Regions from separate parts of the Homo sapiens genome. Here all the other regions are linked to region 3. The links are contacts of gene promoters, found by promoter capture Hi-C in blood cells and fetal thymus (Javierre and others, 2016). All regions are on one chromosome and are shown on one strand. The core of a region is centred on a gene start or on the middle of the fragment in contact, and the rest is flanking DNA. Distances in the headings are between cores, read along the strand shown. Region 1 overlaps TMEM108 (transmembrane protein 108). Region 2 overlaps TMEM108 (transmembrane protein 108). Region 3 holds the start of TMEM108 (transmembrane protein 108).

What was found. The method cuts DNA at HindIII sites, captures the fragments that hold promoters and counts their contacts. A CHiCAGO score of 5 or more calls a contact.
Region 1: a contact is called between a fragment that was not itself captured here and the fragment with the promoter of TMEM108 in region 3, in 1 of 17 cell types (megakaryocytes). The highest score is 6.5, in megakaryocytes.
Region 2: a fragment that was not itself captured here is called in contact with the fragment with the promoter of TMEM108 in region 3 in 1 of 17 cell types (megakaryocytes); the score reaches 5.4 in megakaryocytes.

Annotation. Positions count from the first base shown.
Region 1 is chr3:133,247,111-133,250,014 of GRCh38, forward strand. The region is part of intron 3 of TMEM108 (transmembrane protein 108); the gene reads left to right. TMEM108-AS1 (TMEM108 antisense RNA 1) reads right to left here. Exons shown (of 3, transcript NR_110812.1): 3 at 1-1,487. Among named protein-coding and RNA genes, the nearest start is that of TMEM108-AS1, 8.6 kb to the right of the region's middle. The HindIII fragment of the contact is 1,408 bases long and covers 858-2,265 here.
Region 2 is chr3:133,207,134-133,209,833 of GRCh38, forward strand. The region is part of intron 2 of TMEM108 (transmembrane protein 108); the gene reads left to right. Among named protein-coding and RNA genes, the nearest start is that of TMEM108-AS1, 49 kb to the right of the region's middle. The HindIII fragment of the contact is 3,586 bases long and covers 1-2,700 here.
Region 3 is chr3:133,037,027-133,039,726 of GRCh38, forward strand. TMEM108 (transmembrane protein 108) reads left to right here and starts at 1,365. Exons shown (of 6, transcript NM_023943.4): 1 at 1,365-1,409. RefSeq lists an enhancer at 1,059-1,353. The HindIII fragment of the contact is 5,754 bases long and covers 1-2,700 here.

The DNA of each region.
Region 1 (2,904 bases), core at 312-2,811, 210 kb after region 3:
AAACCTTCAATCACAATAATTTGCAGGTAGTGCTATTTTCCAAATGAACAAACTGTCAAGAATGGGATCCTTAGAAGACAGCCCTCCTTTAAATCCCTCTCTGCTTAGTTCATCGTTATTTTTTACTTTATAACATGGTTGAAGAAAAGTTTATATCAAGAATAATAGAAGTGTCAGCCTGCCTTTTGCTTGTTGTTCACTTGTGCTTCCATTATTAGCATTGCCTTCAATCCAGTGTTTATTTCAGATGTCTTTTTAAGCTACCTGCCCATGTTTTAGGAGCTAACATTTCAAAGTAGATAACAGAATAGGCAAATCCCCTCACTTGGATACAAGTAAACTGCAAGGCTTCCTAGTGTCCTGAGTGTTAAGGAAATAGGGTAGGCCCCACTTCTGAGCCTTCCCAGATGGGGAGCTTCCCCTCTTTCATTAAGATGCCACCTGTCTCAGAGGCCAACCAGAAAATTTTGAAATCACCAAAAGGACTATTTTCAATCCATATTTATATTCACTGTTATTCATAATAATCCTAAAAAAAAAATAAAAAATAAATAAATCCCTCTCTGCAACCCCTGGGTGGCACCAGATCATTTGGTACCCTTCTGTTTTCATGATCTTTCAACACACTTTTATAAAGAATCTACTATGTGCTAGGTATTATGCTAAGCACTGGGAATGAAAAGACATGAACCCTGCCCTCCAAGAGTTCCCAGGCCAGTGGAGAAAAAAGGCTTCACATAGAAAACTGTGGTACAAATGCAGTCTCCTTTATCAGATAGCACACCTGCTGGGGTTATGGCTGTGTGAAAAACTCTAGGGATGCAGAGAGATATAAAGCATAATTTCTTCTCTCCAAAAGCTTATAGTATAATCAAGGAGAAAGGGCAGAATATGAAAAAATAGTGTGTTATAGGATACAGTAGGAAGCTATAAGTCAAGCCATGTTCTTAAATCCAACTTAACTAGTAATAAAAATAATGTTTGATCCACCTCTGACTCCTCTATGTATGTTTGAATTAGTTCTGAACTTGGAGAGAGGCAACAATTAGTCCTCTTAACCAATATAACAACCAAAGGAGACTGACGATAACAAGCCTTTTGTACTTTATGGTGTTTTCCCATCTAATATGCTGTTGACTCATCCTGACAAGCCTGTTGATAGGCATCATTTTAATACCATGTTACTATAAAGAAAATACAATGCCCTAAAAGCCAAGTGTTATGCCTAAAATCCTAGAACTAGGAACATGGACTGAGATTGTCTTACTCCAAGTCCAGTATATTTTCCAGAATCCCAGAGCTTCGGTAGGCACCGCCTTTGTATTTGGAAAACTGTGACCCACTGAAGACAGTTGTGCCATCTGATTGTGTGTCTCTTGATGGAGTTTATAACTTCAGCCAGTGAACTGCTCCAGCCTTTCCCTTGCAGTATGCTTTATCTTGTTTTAGCAGCTTTAGTAGTTGGTCTTTTTGTTTCTCCCCTGGGTCTGTTTAAAAAAATAAAACAAACAGTAGCAGGATAGAGGTACTGGCTCTCAAATCAGATATTGGCTGGGTAATATTTAGGAAAGGAAATGTTGCAACCCATTATGGCAGTGGGTTATTCCTTTTATAAGCTGAGGAATCTGTAGCTCATTTAGCCTCATTATTTTTTGGTTAGCAGGCTCTGGTTGTGCCATCCTTATGGCTGTATTTTTAGAAGTCTTGGATTATTATAGCAACTGTGAAAAAGGATGGGGAAAGAAATCTGGCTTCTAATATACATCCACTTAATTGTTTCTTGAATTAAATTAGCCTTCATCTAGCCCTCAGAGAATGCACTCACTCCTGCTGCTGATTAAAAGCTGCTACCTTTGCGTGGTCACTGAGGGGGTTATCAGATGATGAAAGAGGTATTTCAGGGTGCTGGTGGGCCTCCTCCTCATCCAGTTTATTCCAGGTACCAGCTGGGCCTGGGAGGGTAGAGGTAGGAAAGGCCAGAAAGGAAGCATGTATAATCATGACATCTCCTTCACAGTGCCAAAAGAAATATTCACAATTTGCGTCAAGTCTGATACTCTAGTTGTGGAACTTAAGCCTCTTCATTGAAGCTGATGTGATAGGAGGAAGAGACAGTAATGGGACAGCCCCACTGTGTTTCAGAGGGTGAAAAGAAACTGAGGAAATAAATAAAGACGGAAAACTATTAGGCTGCATCAGTGCAGTAAAGGGCAGAGAATGTTAGCCCTTAAACTATTTCTGTCACACTGTGGTTAATTATAGAAAAGCTTTGAAGGGGTTGAGGGGAAAAACGAGAGTAGGGAACACTCTGAGCATGACAGATGTAAACCGATGTTTTACTGCTCCTCCTTCCCTCCACCTTCCAGTAGTCTCCAGTGTCTATTGTTGCCATCTTTATGTCCATGAGTACCCAATGCTTAGCTCCCACTTATAAGTGAGAACATGTGCCATTAGGTTTTCTGTTTCTGCATTAATTCACTTAGTATAATAGCCTGTAGCTCCATCCATGTTGCTGCAGAGGACATGGTTTTATTCTTTTTTATGGCTGTATAGTATTCCATGGTGTACATGTACCACGTTTTCCTTATCCAGTCCACTGTTGATAGGTACCTCAGTTGATTCCACGTCTTTGTTATGGTGAATAGTGCTGAGATGAACATATAAAGTACCATAATTTTAAATTAACTTCTGTGGTGAATAAATTTTCACTACATTAAGGAACAAAGAGCTTTTAAATTATTTGAGTAATATGGTAATTTAAGTGACTATCATGCATATAATAGAAACATTTTTAATAAGAAAAGGAAATTTCAGTTTATGAAAATCATTATATGTTTTTAATTTTTTTAAGAGAAAGGGTCTCACTATGTTGCCCAGGCTGGCCTAGAACTTCTAGGCTCAAGC
Region 2 (2,700 bases), core at 83-2,582, 170 kb after region 3:
GGGCCCTGGTGTTGCGAAGACCATGGGAAAAGCATAGTATCTGCATTGGAATGCACCGTTCCTCAGGATACAGTCCCTCAAGGCTTCCCTTAGCTATGGGAGGGAGTTCCCTGACTCCTTGCACTTCCCAGGTGAGGTGACGCCCCACCCTGCTTCTGCTTGCCTTCCATGGGCTGAACCCACTTTCTAACCAGTCCCAGTGAGGAGCCAGGTACTTTAGTTGGAAATGCAGAAGTCACCCGCCTTCTGCATTGATCTCACTGGGAGCTGCAGACCAGAGCTGTTCCTGTTTGGCCATCTTGCCAGCCCTCCCCTGGACCTCTGATTTGAGCTGATTTGTCAGGCGAAGTGGCTTACATGTTTGATTTACCTGTAAGTATTGGCTATCATCGTAAAGTTTTTTAGGTTCTGGATGAGAGGTTTATTTGAAAGTAGTTGTTCCAGGATTTAATTATTTAAATCAATTCTGACTGCCTTTGTTTAGAATTTTAATTCAGTGAAAGGTCTAGTTCTTAATGGTTATATGTAACCACAACAGAGACAAGAAATTCATTGCAATTAAATTGTTGGTTTTCCTCACACAAAGCTCATGTTTTAATGCTCCCCTCCATATGGGGGTCAATCATATAGCATTAACATTAATAGCCTAATAAGTCTAATAATGAAGATGTGTAGCATGTTAAAATTAGCCATTAGAATTCAAACATACCACACTCAATGCATGCAACAAGATCCACAAATGCCAACACTACCCATCTGTTTGAACTAATGAGCTGTAAACATTTCCCCCACTGGTGAACTAATAAATTATAGCATGTTACAATTGAAAGGGACCTTGGAGATAGATCTTTCTGTTCCAGCTACCTCTTTCTTCATTTTGTTGGTCCTATATAAAGGTATATTATTTATCCAAGGTCACAGTTGTACAGTAAAACCCTGCCATGGCATAATAGGCCCAGAAATTCCTGTGTGTAAAGCAGGGGTTCCCAAACGTTAGTATACATCCTGGAGAGCTTGTTGAAGCACAGATTACTGGGCCCCACCCTTAGAGTTTCTGATTCAGTGGGTCTGAGGTAGAACCTGATCATTTTCATTTCTAACAAGCTCCTGGGTGCTGCTTGTGGTCTGAGGACCAAACTTTGAGAACCACTTGTGTAGACCACGTGGTAACATTACTGTGAAGTTAATGGAATGATGAAAGCCAGCCTACATAGTTAGCCAGCCTTGAGTTCTGAGGATCTAGCTGCAGGAGCCAGATCTATCCAGGTGTAAACTTGGGTTTGCCACCATCTAGTGTTAGTCATCTAAAGCTGTGTAAACATTGATGGGGATGATTCTGGATCCTGTAGCTGGCTGGGGCTTCCAGCTATCCCATGGTTAGTAGGCATTTATTTCTTCTATTGATTTGGGAAGATTGTGCTTTGGGGACCCAGCTCCCATCTTGCTGATTTCCAACTACCACCAGCTACTTCCCTGTCAGTCTTGTCCTCTCCTGAATATATTCTCCCCTCCTCTAGAAGACAAGAACATTGGCCCAACTCTTTCAGAAGCTGGAGAGCCAGTCACATTACATCCAAAACTGTATTGGGGAAGGCTTTTACAGCAGCCAGTGGTAGATCTCCTGTTGTTTAATGTACTCATTCTCAAACTCCTGCCTCACTGTCTTACCTCTGTGCCTTTGCATTTTCCATCACTCTTAACCTTCAAGGTTTAGCTGAATTTCCACCTCCTTCAGAAACCTTGTCTTCCTACTCTAGAAGATAACAACTTTTCTTTTAAAGAGAAAATAGGGCATGATTCTGGTACTTTTGCGTTCCAGACTTTGTGTGGATGTTCGTGTCATTTTATTCTCAAAACTATCTTGCAGTATAGACGTTGTACCCATTTTATTGATAGTAATGCTGAGACTCAAGAAGGGTAAGGCTTTTAAGAGACAGGGTCTCACAGTTGCCCAGGCTGAAGTGCAGTGGCACAATCATAGCTCACTGAAACTTCAAACTAGCTCAAGGGATCCTGCTGCCCCAGCCCCTTCTAAGTAGCTCTGACTATAGACACAGGCCACCACACCTGGCTAATTTTTTTTTTTTTTTTAAGGAATGGGGTTTTGCTATTTTGCCAAGCTGGTCTCAACTCCGGCCTCAAGCAGCCTTCCTGCCTTGGCCTTCCAAAGACCTGGGATTATAGGCATGAGCCACCATGCCTGCCCCATTTTCTAATTTGTTAGAATATAATTTGCTATGATATACCTTGTCTAATACAAGTGCATTAGACAAATACATAGGCAAAGCTGTCTATAGAGTGGTTTTTGACAAGATAGTCTCTCTCCATGCCATGCTGCAAGCTCTTAAAGATGGGGAGCATGTCTCATTTGTTTTTATTCTCAGCCCCAGCCCCTCCTATTAGCACAGTGCATGTTAAGTTGTGGCACTCAGTATTTTCCAAAATGGATCTCCTGGCTTACTGCTGTGTATACTGCATCTTCCTGCCCCGCTTCTCTGTGCAGTTGGCTATGGTCCCCAGCGGGGAAGGAGGTTCCTTTGGTGTAGTCTCTCCTCCATTGCCCCCACTCAGAATTTGCAGCATCAACTGTTTTCTCTCAGTCTATCTTCTCTATGAATGCCATCTTCAGGAAAAGGAGCACTTTTCTACCCTGAGAATGAATGATTTAGAGATGAGGGTGGTTTCAGCTTCATGCCAAGC
Region 3 (2,700 bases), core at 115-2,614:
ACAATGTCTGAGATTGCTAGGTGGGCTTCACTTCTGGGGATGAGAAGCCAGAGAAGTTCAGGACACACTGACAAAGGTGAAGTTTTCTCTAAGCGACAGTTTGATCACCTTGATAGTGAGAGAGAAATGCTGAAGCAGGGTTATACCACCTGGTTTCAAGAGATGAGAGATGAAGGTTTTGGAGAATTCAGCACTTAAGAATCTTGAACCACGGCGGTACACTACTGGGTAATAAGAGCTTGGCTACGCTGAACGACAAAGGTTCTAGCTGGCCAGTCCGAAAACACTGAGTCCTTAGGTCAAATTTGAGAAATGACAGGGCCAGTGGGAGTCCTAACTTCTAGACTCTGGAATTACTGACAGAAGAATATTTGGACAGTTTTTAAGACCCTCAAGGCATATTATTTTACAACCTCTTTAGCTTATGCCTGAATTTGTGCTGTGACTGTTAGCTTCCCGGATGTTTTCTCCACATGCTTCTTTCTGAACTAGCCTGTATAGTTCTACAACAAATTGTTACGTTTTGAGAAGCAGGGACCACTTATACCACTTCTCTGGCCAAGTGTCTGGCACCGCGCCACTCAGACACACACGCCCAACCCTTTAGGATTAACGTAGACACAGTGTTCTCTTCCATGGCCATTCCGTCTCCACTTCTGGTTCCACACTCCAGTCACCAAGTTGGCATGATTGCTGCTCCATAGACCAAGGGTGGGTAATGTGGGGATTAAACACACCTTCCCTCAGCTGGTGCCCAAACTGTAAGCATCACCGGGACACCCCATGTAGCCACAGGAACGCTTCTCATCAGTGGAAGAAGGACAAGAAAGGTCGTGCAAGTTTCAAATTACGTGGAGCTGGGGCTACAGCCATTACTTTCGGACAGGTGCAATTCAAAGCGTGATCCTCCGACCAAGAGCTTCGTCATCGCCACCTGGGAGCTTATTAGAAATGCAGGATCTCAGGTCTCCACCCCAGACCTTCTGGATCAGAATCCGCATTTTAACAAGAGAGTCAAGTGATTCTTATTTATATTAGAATTTGAGAAGTCAATTGATCTGGTAATTGATCAACTGAGTGCCACTTAGCCCCCGAAAACAGAGACCCTTTGTGCCCGCCTCGCACCCGCTCTGCTAGGTAGCAACCGAACCCCCAGAGACATCGGAGCGGGCGCTGCCGAGGGCAATTTGGTGATTGGCTGGTCTCACCACGTGACCGGCGCTGAGCCTTCCGTGCGACCGGATTGGCTGTCGCGGACGCTGACGGACAAGGCCGGGGCGGGCCAGAGCCTGGTCGGAGGGGCGCGCGCGGGGGCCCGAGGGGCGAAGGCGCGAGTGCGCGAGAGCGCGTGCGCGAGCGGTGGGGCTTTCTCCTGAGCCGTCGGAGGGAGCCGGAGCGCTTCTCCCGAGGTAAGCGGCGCTCCGGGGCGTCCCCCCAGTCCTTCCCATGCTGGGTCCCGGCAAGCGGGTTAGGCTGGGCTGGGCGGGGCTCGGGGAGGTGTGGGGTCAGCTTGCCCCGGGAGCCCAGCTTCAGGGAGGATGCAGCCCCGGTTGCCTTGGTTTCCCTTTTCCTATCCTCTCAGGCACCTTCCCATCCTCCCCACTGCGTGACGGGTCTGCCCGAGGGGAGTTGCCCACCTGGCAGCCCTGCCTCCGCCTTTGTTTCCCGCCTGGAGGGTTGCTGGCATGAACCCCCTCCCCAGGTGGAGGGTGCGGGTGATGGGGCGCGGGCGTCAGGAGCGCTGGACCTGGGCTGGGGCCGAGGAGGAGGTGGCTTTAATGCAGGGGGACCTGTCACATGGGGAAACGAAGAAGAAGAAATGTAGTGTCACTTTGGCCAGCCCGAGGGACTCGAACTAATCCTGCGGCCGCGAGCGGAGCCGAATTCCTAGCGCAGCTGTGCGAAGAGCCCTCCTGCCTAGGTGCCGGCGGCCTCGCCGGGGACGGAGCCTCCGTGCTGCCCGGGAGGTTGCTCTGCCGGCTGGACCTGGCGGTTTTCACCCCAGAGTTGCAGCGAAATTGAACGCTTTGAGCCTGCTGGAGGAATCCAGAGATTGGTTCAGGGGCTATTTTTTTTTTTAAGCAGTTGGGCACCGGTGGAGCCGGTCTAAATGAAAGTCTACAAAAACCAATTTCAGATGCAGCGTAACTGATGACTGGTAAATGGTGAGGAGGGAAATGCCTGCAGTGAACTGCAGACCACCACACTGAGATTCTTCCTTAAGAAGATAGGGGTTTTTTTCGGAGGAAAGGTTGTAGTTTCTGCAAACAGGTTTTTCTGGGGGTACCCAGGAAGGTTATTACTTATTTTCAGCATGTTACTGGGTTGTGGGGAGAGGGAAGGCAGGGTCTAAACTAAACCTACTCACACGTCCTTAATTCTTTGAAAAGTGTGTGCTCGATGAAGACCATTTGGCTGCCAAAAGAGGTTTGTATGGGAGTCCGGGGGAGATGGATTGTTGCCTTTAAATCATACTTTAAAAAGGGGAAGGTATGTCCAGGAACTTAAGAGCAGGTCAAGCTATGGAAAGTATTCCCTGCCTCTCCTCCATTTCCCCAGACAGCTCATAGGCAAACATAAAAAGTCCCTTCAATTTTCCACGGGTTAACTTCTTGATTTGTTGGATACACCTGGTAATCTACTCTGTAAGAAATGGTTCAACTAACTCATTATGAAGATATTACTGTGTTCTGGACTTTC